3 separate regions of the Homo sapiens genome follow, and all the other regions are linked to region 3. Evidence: promoter capture Hi-C in 16 types of primary human blood cells and fetal thymus (Javierre and others, 2016). All regions are on one chromosome and are shown on one strand. The core of a region is centred on a gene start or on the middle of the fragment in contact, and the rest is flanking DNA. Distances in the headings are between cores, read along the strand shown. Region 1 has its middle 32 kb from the start of FBLN2. Region 2 has its middle 10 kb from the start of HDAC11-AS1. Region 3 holds the start of WNT7A (Wnt family member 7A).

Evidence for each region. Contacts are between HindIII fragments. The CHiCAGO score rates a contact against its expected background, and 5 or more counts as called.
Region 1: a fragment that was not itself captured here is called in contact with the fragment with the promoter of WNT7A in region 3 in 2 of 17 cell types (megakaryocytes and M2 macrophages); the score reaches 6.3 in megakaryocytes.
Region 2: a contact is called between a fragment that was not itself captured here and the fragment with the promoter of WNT7A in region 3, in 1 of 17 cell types (naive CD4 T cells). The highest score is 5.4, in naive CD4 T cells.

The regions. Positions count from the first base shown.
Region 1 is chr3:13,515,115-13,519,257 of GRCh38, reverse strand. No RefSeq gene overlaps it. Among named protein-coding and RNA genes, the nearest start is that of FBLN2, 32 kb to the left of the region's middle. RefSeq lists enhancers at 97-986, 2,360-3,288. The HindIII fragment of the contact is 2,885 bases long and covers 1,002-3,886 here.
Region 2 is chr3:13,467,646-13,471,466 of GRCh38, reverse strand. No RefSeq gene overlaps it. Among named protein-coding and RNA genes, the nearest start is that of HDAC11-AS1, 10 kb to the left of the region's middle. The HindIII fragment of the contact is 4,191 bases long and covers 1-3,821 here.
Region 3 is chr3:13,877,674-13,881,751 of GRCh38, reverse strand. It overlaps WNT7A (Wnt family member 7A), which reads left to right and starts at 1,681. Exons shown (of 4, transcript NM_004625.4): 1 at 1,681-2,006. The coding sequence starts at 1,936. RefSeq lists enhancers at 1,703-2,204, 2,707-3,208. The HindIII fragment of the contact is 8,507 bases long and covers 1-4,078 here.

The DNA.
Region 1 (4,143 bases), core at 1,195-3,694, 360 kb after region 3:
AGAATGTCTTCCAAACAGTCCAGCCCTGTGTGTCATAGGACCTGGGGGCAGGACTTCCAGTAATGCTGGGGCCAGGGTATCAGAGGAGGGAAGGATACCCGGCCTCGCCCACCCCCAGAGGTCTGGAGTCATTGGGGAGGGAAGAGGGGACTCTGGAGACAAAGTCAGCCGAAGCACTGTCACCAAGCTTCCCCCAACCCAGGAAGCCGCCCCTCCAGGGTCAGCCTCGGGGAAGGGAAGGACCAGCCCTGAGGACAACTCAGGGCTGAGTGTGCGACACCCAAGGCACAGTGAACCCAGAGTCCTGGTCTGCGAGGCCCACGGGCTGGGGCCTGCCTGGGTCTCGCCAGCCCTCCCAAGGCCTTGGCCCCAGGCCCTGATGCCTGGTCCCAGCTCCCAGGCCCTAGACTCTGCCAACCCTGGCAAGATGCCCTCCCTCCCCTCAGCAGGCGCCGCCTTCCTCCCCTAGCCCAGGAATTGCCCCATGTGTCCAGCCACACGAGGAGCTCCCGGAGCTGGCTTTGTCCCAAGCATCCTTCCAAGCAGAACATATCTGCTCCCGCCTGCAGGCTTCCCCGGGCCTCCTGCCACCAACCCTTGGGGGGGCAGCCACAACATTTGTGCTGAGCCCAGGCCGACAGTCCCTGGCACTGCCTCTGCAGGCGGGTGCCCACTCTTCACCTCGTGCCCGAGAGACCTTGGTAGAACGCTGGCCGAGCCTCCACCCTGCACTTTCTCCTCCCCACCGTCTGGCCTACATTCCTGGGATGGACCCAAGTTCCCATAGGCAGAGAATCCATCCCTGGGCTGGCATCGTTTGGGAAAAGCATCAAGGACTTGCCTGGAGGTATCCAAGGACTCCGAAGCAAGTGCCAGAGCAAACCCCACCCGTGCCTGCTTCCTTCCTCGGGCCCTCTGGATGGATAAGGGGAGGTGGAGGAAGACAGAGGCACAGAGGTCAGACTGCAGACCAAGCCTTTGGTGTACATGACAGCCAAGCTTTACCTCTACGGCATTGTGTTGGTGGCATTACTGTCCCGCTTTATAGAAGAAATGGAGAAAAAGAGAGAAAGGACCTGCCCAAGGTCACACAGCCAGGAAGTGGCACAGGCAGGATTGAACCCAGGACCCATTTTCAATGCCCCTGAAACCAGCCTGCCATGCTTGGGGCCTGAGCCTCACTTGAGCGGGCATGGGAAAGATGGCAGCCTCCTTCCCATCAGTGGGTAGGGCTGGAGGTCGATGGTCTTGGACCCTGGATTCACAAGGACCTTGGAGCCCAAGTCTCCACGCAGTAGCTGCCTCCTCCTGGATCAAGTTTATTAGGCCCTATAACTGGGCTCCTGCCTCAGTTTCCCTTGCTGCCTAGAAGGCTGGGTCCTGCTGCTCCTCCTGGGTCCAGGAGACAGTTCCTGTGTGGCTGTCCTGACCAAGGTTACAGATCCCTCACCTTCCTTCTAAGGTGGCTCCTGGTGCTCACTAAGCACATGTGAGCACCCTGGCCCCGGACCCCACCATGTGCCTCCTGTCCTTTTTCCTGGGCCTTGAGTTGGAAGGGCAGCAGGGACAGAGGGCTCCGCCCCCGGTTTCTCAGTAGAGGTAAAAGATGGAGGCCGACAGAGGGTCAGGGCCTGCCTCAGGCCACCCAGTGCACAACCTGGGTCAGCCAGGGACTGTCCCAGGCCTGGGAGCTGCAGAAGCCGAGGGGAGGGTGGGGCTGCCGGGGGCTGGGGCTGATGACTGCTCTATCTTCCAAACAACAGCAGCAAGGGATGGCAGCCAGGCTGTCGGGACAGCCTGTTCCCATAGCGGGGCCCAGGGGAACCTAGCCTGACCACACCTCGGCTATGCCGGGCCTGACATCTGTGCAGCTGCATCGGGTGACCCAGGCTGGCCCTGTCCCTGCTCAGTTCCTCCGAGGGCTGCAGCATGGCAGTAGCCCAGGGCCCGCGGGTCCACCATTTCCGCGGCTGATGGGGCTGGGGGTCCTCCCCGAGGTCAGGGGACCCATCCCCTGCCTCTGGGGGCACCTGCCAGGCTGGTGGAAGAAAGAAGGGGAGAGAAAGCTGAGGAAGCAAGGGAGGGAGCTGCCACCCACTCCGCTTCTACTTCCTGCAGCTTCTGTGAGGGGCTGTCACCTCCGGAGGCTTGCTGTGGGTGCACATGGTACGCAGAGACAGTGGACGTGGCTGGCCCACACCAGGCAGCTGTGTGCGGCAGAACCCTCGCATCCAGCCTAGAGTGCCTATAGCAAGGGCTGCCATCAAGACCACTTGCTTCTGGGCATGGTTCTGAGTGCTTTACATGAGCTGACGCATTTATTCCTCACAGCAACCCCAAGAGGCAGCTACTAATATTATCCCCATTTTATGGATGAAGTAAATGAGACTGGGGCGGTTAAGTCATTCACCTAAGGTCAAAGGAAAGTGGGCCCTGACCAGTGCCGTCCAGTTTATCCCAGTACCGGTACCCCTGTGGATGGAAAGGGTGAAGCCTGTTCCTCCCACGCCCACTGATGTCTCCTCCAACACCGCCCCCCGCCTCCCCCGCCTGGCCTGGCTGCCAGCAACTCCTTGGACGCTCCAGGTGGAAAAACAATTGTGGGGCTGGCTCGGGTGGCTGGAGCAGCCGGGAGCTCCAGGCTTGGTGTCCCACCTATGCCAAGCCGCCAGAGCAGGGTGGGGGATGGGAGCACTTGCTCAGGAGCAGGGTGGGGATTCAGAGGAGACGCTGGGGCCCACCAGGGATGGCAGAAGCAGGCCTCTACCCCGGCCTGGCCAAAGTCGGCTCTGGGCCTGCTCCCCACAGTCAGAAGGGCAGGGGGAGCCCCCCAGCAGGCACCAGCCAACTTCCCTCCCGACTGGAGCAAATGACTGAGTCTTTACCAAGCGCCTACTAAGCACCGCAGGCCCTGTTCCGGGGGTCGAGTCAGGGACAGACCCAATCCTGCCCCTTTACTGCCTGGCAGGAAGAACAGGCAAGGAAACACACAGTCTCAAGAATGCTTGCTTGTTTCAACTCCCTGGGGATCTCAGTTTGAGCTGAGGAAACTGGGGCTCTGGGAGACGAAGTGAATCGCCCAAGCACTCAGCAAGGCCGAGCTGAGATTCTGAGCCCTCGTGCCTGGGCTCTGAACTCACCCAGATCCCACCTTGGTGCCAGCTGCTTCTCATTGAGCACCTACTGTGTGCTGGGTCATTCCCAGGCCCGCCCGACCCTCCCAATGGCCCCCCAGGTGGGTATGGCCATTGCCATTTTAGAGAAGCGGTAGCCGAGGCTCCGAGTCGGGGAACCACTTGCTGAGAGTCACCTTGCTGGAAAGGGACCCCACCCCAGAGTGTCTGACCCCAGAGCCCACAGCCTCCCCCAGACTTTTTCTGGAAACTCCTGGCATTTAGGGGAGTGAGAAAGAGCTGTCCTGAGCAGGTCAGAGTGGTGTCAGGGATGCTGCCAGTGGGGCCACCTCCTACACTGGGGACAGCTGGGGGCTGGACCTTGGCTGACACTATCCTTTTACAATGATACGTTATTCATCTAGCTTAAGCCACACAGATGAGAACTCTCTAGATAATTTTGGTCTTTCCTTTTAGACAACAACACAGTTATAATTTAACTATTTTAAGAGGACATGAAGTCTACACAATGTCTTCTCTGCGTTAATTACCATGGTGAACCATTTTCAGGCCACAGACCAGTACAGTGAAGGTCTTGGTGCTCAGTGAGATAGGGAACGTTACTTGCACCTACACAAATGGCCCCAAACTGATATTTTGTTGTTATTCTTGTTCTTATGTCTGCATTTAACGGTTGTTCTGTCTCTCTCTTATTGTTGAGCTGTTATTTCTAAAAGCGCTAAGGGTTTGCTCTGGAAAGTAGAAAATAAGCTTGATGCATCTTGTGAGTGTCTGAGTTATCAATGGTTCTGCTGTGAGCAGAACTTAACAACAAAGGGAATTCACCAAAATAATAAATTACACCAAGTACTTATCGAGCTAGAGAAGCTCTGGGGACTCAAGGATTAAAATCAGGGTCTTGATTATGGCATGGTCACTAGCCTTTGCAGCAATTGTTTGCAAATTAGAAAAAGGCTCCACTTCTTCAAAATACTTTACTAGTGCCTACTAGAAAATTATTTTAATCAAT
Region 2 (3,821 bases), core at 514-3,013, 410 kb after region 3:
GGGGTAAGAAAGGGACAGAAGGGAGCCAGTACAAGGTATGTCAACGAGCAGAAGACAGCTGTGGGTGCGCAGGGCTCCGGTGGCTGGAATATTCATCCTCTAACTCCTGTCCATCATTTGCTGAGGGCTACTGCCAGGGATGTTAAACCCCCACAATTCTGATTTGCCTCACACTGGCCAGGCACGCCCCTGAAGCCAGAGGAAGCCCACAGGCTGAATCACAGGGACATGCAGTCGGAAGCCACCAACAGTGAACGCTGAAGGGTGGGGACTGCATGCCAATAACTGTGCTACGTGACGGGAGAGGTCTTCCCTGGCCACCAAATGTAAGCAGCACCCCTCCACGCCTGGTGTTCTCCATCGCTGCATCCTGTTCTTGCCCTTCAGAGTATTCACCAGACTTTGTACCATTACCCATGCGTACACAGACATATTTGTTTACTCACCTGTTAACTCACTTCCTCCACTAGGTTGCAAGCTCGAAGAGGGCAGAGGTGACATCTCTGTTTACTGCATGTACCCAGCACAGTGCCTGGCACCAATCTGCATCCACTAAACATTTGTGCCTGGATGAACACAGCCTGCATGGGCTTCATCTTCATTATTTGTTCTTATGTCTGTCTCCACCACTAAGTGTGACCTTTCAGAGCCCAGCATCCAGATCCAACCTGCCTATGGGTCCAGACCTAGCTCAAGACCTTAAAGACTGGCCGGGTGAGGTGGCTCACGCCTGTAATCCCAGCACTTTGGGAGCCTGAGGAGGGTGGATCACTTGACGTCAAGAGTTCGTGACCAGCCTGGGCAACATGGTGAAACCCCATCTCTACTAAAAATACAAAAATTAGCCAGGCGTGGTGGCAGGTACCTGTAATCCCAGCTACTGGGGAGGCTGAGGAAGGAGAATCATTTAAATCCGGGAGGTGGAGTTTGCAGTGAACTGAGATTGTGCCACTGCACTCCAGCCTGGGCGACAGAGCAAGACTACATCTCAAAAAAACAAAAAAAATAAAAAAACAAAAAACACACACACAAACAGAAAGAAATGTGCTTCATGTTACTCCCACCTGAAAAGTTTTCCCAGCTAATGGAACCTACACCAGAAGCTGTGTGAAATAAGCCATCCATGGACTGGACATTGCAGCTTCAGTGACAAGTAGGAATGAATTTGGCAACATGGGAGGGTAAGGGAAGCATTTGAAAATTTAACAAGATTTGGCCACCAGTGTCTGAGTTTTAACTGTAGTAAAAACCAGCCAGGCCGGGCGCAGTGGCTCACGTCTGTAATCCCAGCACTTTGGGAGGCCGAGGCAGGCAGATCACCTGACGTCAGGAGTTCGAGACCAGCCTGGCCAACATGGTGAAACTCCGTCTCTGCTAAAAAATACAAAAATTAGCCAGGCGTGGTGGCAGGAGCCTTAATCCCAGCTACTTGGGAGGCAGAGGCAGGAGAATCATTTGAACCTGGGAGGCAGAGGTTGCAGTGAGGTGAGATCGAGCCATTGCACTCAAGCCTGGGGCACAAGAGCAAGACTTCTCTCACACATACACACACACACACACACACACACACACACACACAAACACCAGCCAGGCACGGTGGCTCATGCCTGTAATCCCAGCACTTTGGGAGGCCGAGGTTGGCCGATCACCTGAGGTCAGGAGTTCAACACCAGCCTGGACAGCATGGTGAAACCTCATCTCTACTAAAAACACAAAATTAGCCAGGCATGGTGGCGGGCACCTGCAATCCCAGCTGCTCGGGAGGCTGAGGCAGGAGAATTGCTTGAACCCAGGGGGCAGTGAGCCAAGATCACACCAGTGCACTCCAGCCTGGGTAAAAAAAGAGCGAAACTCCATCTCGAAAAAAAAAAACACAAAAATCATGAACTTTACCATATTAACCATGGGTAAGTATACAGTTCAGTAGTGTTAAATATCCTTGTGCAACAGGTCTCTAGAACTATTTTTTCTTTTTCTTTTTCTTTTCCTTTTTCTTTTTTCTTTTTTTTTTTTTTTTTTTTTTTTTTTTGAGATGGAGTCTCACTCTCTTGCCCAGGCTGGAGTGCGATGGCACAATCTCTGCTTACCGCAACCTCCACCTCCTGAGTTCAAGTGATTCTCCTGCCTCAACCTCCTGAATAGCTGGGATTACAGGCACCCGCCACCACCCCCTGCTAATTCTTGTATTTTTAGTAGAGATGGGGTTTCACCATGTTGGTCAGGATGGTCTTGAACTTCTGACCTGAGGTGATCTGCCCACCTCAGCCTCCCGAAGTGCTGGGATTACAGGCTTGAGCCACCACGCCTGGCCCTCTGGGACTTTTTTATCTTGCAAAACTGAAACTGTCTTCTCCTTATACACTAACTCGCTCTTTCCCCTCCCCTTTGCCCCGGCACCCCCCATTCCATTTTCTGTCTATGAAATTGACTGCCCTAGGTACTTCATGTAAGTGGAATCACACAGTATTTTTCCTTTTGTGACTGGCTTATTCACTTAGCATAATGTCCTCAAGATTCATCCATGTCGTAGCTTAGCTCAGAATTCCTTTCCCTTTTAAGGCTAAGTAATATTCCATCATATGAACAGAGTACATTTTCTGTATTCATTCATCTGTCAATAGACATTTAAGTTCTTTCCACCTCTTGGCTATTGTGAATAATGCTGCTATGAACATGTACGTGCAAATATCCATTGGAGTCTCTGCTTTCACTTCTTTTGGACATGTACCCAGAAGTGGGATTGCTGGATCATATGGCAATTCTATCTTTAATTTTTTTAGGAACCATCATACTGTTTTCCACAGCAATTATACCATTTTGCGTTCCCACATCAGAACAAGGGTTCTATTTCTTCGCATTCTTGCCAAGAGCTGTTATTTTCTTTTTTTTTTTTTCAATAGTGGCAATCCTAATAGTGTGACATTTCACTTCCTAATAGAAGTGACATTTCACTGTGGGTTTTTTTTAATTTTTTATTATTATAAATATATTTTTGAGACAGGGTCTCACTGTGTCACCCAGGCTGGAGTGCAATGCAGTGTCTCTATCCCAGCTAACTGCAACCTCCACCTCTCGGGTTCAAGTGATTGTCCCACCTCAGCCTCCCCAGTAGCTGGGATTACAGGCGTGTGCCACCACTTCCGGCTAATTTTTGTATTTTTTGGTAGAGACGGGGTTTCACCATATTGGCCCAGCTGATCTCTAACTCCTGACCTCAGGGGATCAGCCCGCCTCAGCCTCCCAAAGTATTGGGATTACAGGCATGAGCCACCACGCCCAGCCTTCATTGTGGTTTTGATTTGCACTTCCCTACTAGTTAGTGGTGCTGAGCACCTTTTCGTGTGCTTGTTGGTATTTGTATATCTTCTCTGGAGAAATGTCTATTCAAGACCCTTATTCATTTTTTATTGTGTTGTTGTTAAGTTTTAGGACTTCTTTATATATTCTGGTTTTTGGCCTCTTGTCATATATATGATTTGTAAATATTTTCTCCTATTCTGTAGGTCGCCTTTTCACTCTGTTGGTTTTTTTGAGGTGAAGAAATGTTTAAGTTTGATGTAATTCCATTTGTCTATTATTGCTTTTGCTGTCTATCCTTTTGGTATCCTATCCAAGAAATTATTGCCAAACCCAATGTCATGAAGATTTTCCCCTGTGTTTTCTTCTAAGGGTTTTATAGTTTTAGCTCTTACATTTAGGTGTTTCATCCGTGTTAGCGTGTGCTTTCATTATTTAAATACACTCTGCATGGTCAAGCAGTCTGTAGTCTGCAGGGAAATCATTGAGACTCAAACTCGGCCAAGGTTAGGCCTAGACATGGT
Region 3 (4,078 bases), core at 432-2,931:
TATCCCCATCTCCCTTCAAGCTCAGGCCTTCTCTCTCTCTCTATTGCAGCCCACCATCTCCTCCCTGGGGCTCATGCCCACCTCTGAGCTTTTGCACCTGCTGGTCCCCTTCCTGCAGTGCTGGACCCCTGATGCTGTGTCCTTCAGGCCTCACCTCAAATGCCACCTCCTCAGATCTAAAATTAACCCTCCAACACCCAGTATTCCCTCTCCCATCACCCTGCTTAATGGTCTACTATCTGCAACTCTGTTCTTGTTCACTTATCATCTGTCTCCTTCCTGGCCCCAAGAAGAAAGACTGTTGCCTTTCTTCTTCCTTGTGTCCACGGTGCCCACTATCGTGGTTGGCACAGAATATGGAATATGAATGAATACCTGAATGGTGGCTTTCGGGTGTGTGTGTGTGTGTGTGTGTGTGTAATTTAGAAAGGCAATCTTGAAGGATAGTCAGGACTGGGTGCAGGAGGTTACTACAGTTGGGCATACTTTGTTTCCCATATGGTTGTGCCACTCGCTAGCTGGTGACTCTGGGCAAACACCTTCACCTCCTTGAGCCTCAGTGTCTTCAGCTGAAACCTGAGTTCAGATTTGCCAGACCTGGGCATAGGGACAGCAGGTCCAGCAGGAACACCAAGCCAGGACCACAGCCACTCCCAGGGAGCTCAGTCCCTGGAGCCCGAGAGGAACACTCTCCGGAGGCGCAGGCGCAGCCGCTCCTAGAGACTGGGCAACCCCCAGGTGGCAGGCGGGACCGGTCCGTGCAAACAGGGAACAGGTACCCGGAGGATGGACATTCGCTGGCAAAAACATAAACTGCCGCTCGGAGTCTTGGCACCACCCAATTTCCAGGGACGGTTAGACTCCCCCTAGCTCACTGGATGAGGTGTACACCAAAGAAGGGTGTTAGCCCCCTCGGGTCGGCCAGGGCACTCAAAGCATTCTGTTCCCGGGAGCGAGGCCGAGGTGCACCACCCGCCGCGTCCGCCTGGTGACGCCGCGAGCGCGCTCTGAGCGGCCAGCTGCGCCCCTCACGCTCCCGCGGCTCAGGCGCCCCACTGCTGTTCCGCGCGGGGCAACTGGGCCTCAGCCCGACTCAGTCTGTCGGCTAACAGCAGGATCCCAGAGGAGGCTGCCCAACCTGGGCACCCCCTGCCGCCACTCTCGAATAGGTGGGAGTAGGGAAGAAATACACTGAGCCAGTCAGCCCGTCGCTCCGCGAAAGGGGGCGCCCTCCCCTGAAGCTGGGGTTGGGGAACTGGGGTGTGCCCTGTCAGCCCCAGCTCCCTGTTCCGGGCTGGAGGGAGCAGGGCAGCAGACCAAGGCACTAGGCCTCTCGGCCGAGTCTGGTCCACTCCACCCGAGGGCAGCCTCTGGACGCCCACTCGCCCTGCAATCTGCAAGTTAGTGACGGGTGGGGGGCGAGCGGGCTCCTACCGCCTCCAACCGGGCTGTGCTCCCCAGCCTGCCACCTGCACCCCGGAGCAGGGAGGGGGCCCCCGGGAGCGCGCATGGAAAGGCGCGAGCGCGCGCCTTGTGCAGGCGGCCCTGTCCCGCGGGCGCAGGGGCGCTGGGCGGGCGCTCCGGGGAGGCGGGCGGGGGAGGGGGCGGGGGAGGGACGGGGGAAAGGAGGGAGGGGCGGGGGCTGGAGGCAGCAGCGCCCCCGCACTCCCCGCGTCTCGCACACTTGCACCGGTCGCTCGCGCGCAGCCCGGCGTCGCCCCACGCCGCGCTCGCTCCTCCCTCCCTCCTCCCGCTCCGTGGCTCCCGTGCTCCTGGCGAGGCTCAGGCGCGGAGCGCGCGGACGGGCGCACCGACAGACGGCCCCGGGGACGCCTCGGCTCGCGCCTCCCGGGCGGGCTATGTTGATTGCCCCGCCGGGGCCGGCCCGCGGGATCAGCACAGCCCGGCCCGCGGCCCCGGCGGCCAATCGGGACTATGAACCGGAAAGCGCGGCGCTGCCTGGGCCACCTCTTTCTCAGCCTGGGCATGGTCTACCTCCGGATCGGGTAAGGGCTGCCTGCGCCCTTTCCGCGCGTGTTTCGACAAAGTTGGCACGGCCCGGGGAGGGAGGTGTGCCGCCTGCGAGCCTCTGCCGGCCAACTTCCACAGCTTCTCTGAGAGGCCGGGTGGGTGCGGTGTGGGAGCGGTGGACGCACAAAGGCCCCCCGCAGGACACCCCAGGAGATATAGGCAGGGGGACTGGCCATCCTGAGGACGTCTGAGTCTGGAATCCCCCAGGACCAGAGACAGCCGGTAGGGACGCTCCAGCCTGAGGGACTCTGGGGGAGGGCTAGCTGCTGCAAAGGTTCAGCCCATCCCGGGGACCCTTCGGACCCGGGCATAGGGACAGCAGGTCTAGCAGGAACATCAAGCCAGGACCACAGCCAATCTCGGGGAGCTCAGTCCCCGGAGCCCGAGACGAACTCTCTCAGGAGGCGCGGCACAGCCGTTCCTAGAGACTGGGCAGTCCCCAGGTGGCTGGCGGGGCCGGTCCGTGCAAACAGGGAACAGGTACCCAGGAGGAAGGACATTCGCTGGCAAAAACATAAACCGCCGCTCGGAGCCTTGGCACCACCCAATTTCCAGGGGCCCTTAGACTCCCAGAGCCCCTTCCCGGGCCAAGGGGACAGCACGTCCCACCCCCAACAAACACACACAAAGGTGGGACGAGAGGCGGTCTGAGACACAGAGGGAGACAAGCGCTAGAGAGAGGCGGGACACCCCGCCCCCTGGAACTGGGCAGCAGAGGCGGCCGGGCGCGCGAGCAGCCCTCCGGCTTCACCTAGCGTTTCTGTGGAGGTGGGGCTCGGGGGCGCTCTGGCTGGAAGGTGGGAGGGGGCAGCTCGGGACGCGTCCTGGAGCTGCTTGTGCAAAGCCGGTCACCCTTTGTACTTAAGACAACGCGTGTGAGGCTCGGAGCGGTGTGGGGGCGGGGGGATCTGGGCATGGATAGAGGTTCTGGCGCTGAAGGGCCCGCTTGGTAGGTCTCACACACCCTGCCCCTCCAGCCCCCAGCAGTGAACCCATTACCATCCCTTTTGAGGAGGGGTGGACCGCAGGGGCTGCGGCGAGGGGATGTGCGTGGCAGACCCTTTGTGTTTTGTCACTACTACCCCCCTACCCCGTCACTTCCCCAGTCCACGTCTCTGGAGCGGGGATTTCGCAAGTTGTCCGGCCGCGGCCGCTAGCAGGTGCGTGCAGAGCCGACCAGGGGCCGCCAGCCCGACCAGCGGCGGAGAGGCGGCTGCGGGGCTCGCGCCAGTACCGCCAGCCTGCCGGTGTGTTTTAAGTGTTATTGATTCGCCCGCGTCTGGGTGGCTTTCCTTTTTTTCCCCTGCTTTAATCTTCATCTTGGCCCGCGCCCCGCCGCCCCGCGCACATTCAGCATCCAGGAAGCCAGTAGGGCCGATTGGCTCGAGCCGATTGACTCGGGCCGCGTGCGGCTTTATCTCCTTTTTAATTAGAAACGGGGAGGAGGGACACGGGTGGCGGGGGAGACAGAAAGGGAAAACAGCAGAAAATAACCTCCCCTGGCCGCCCCGCCCGCCCGCGGGCCGCCCTCCCGCCGGCGCCGCGGCCTCCCCGGATTGGCCCTGCGGGGGCCCAGCTGCCCGGCAGGGAGGGAGGGAGGGAGTCCTGCAGGGCGCTGGCTTTCCGCCCCAAGCTGCCCTCTGGGGTAGGGAGAGGTCCAGGTCGGAGAGGTGGGAGTTGCAGGTGACTTCGGGCCAGGCCCTGCTGCTCCCTGCGCCTCGGGCTACTCATCTGTATAGTGGACATGAGGGGTGAAGTCTCAACGTCCCTAAAAGGTTTTTCCATTTCCCCAGACGTGACGGCTCTACCCGCTTCTGGCTGATGGTGGGGCATCTGCGGTATTCTTATTTTGCTCGGATAGTTCAGGTGACTCCGCACTAGCCTATTGCAACAATCAGATCCGATAACGATAATGATAATTACAACACCACCACCACATTTATGGGGCACTCACTATGTGCCTGGCACCTTCTAAGCACTTTCCATGTTCTAGCACATTTGATTTTCACAGCAGCCAATGAGGTGGGGACTAGTTATCAATACCCTA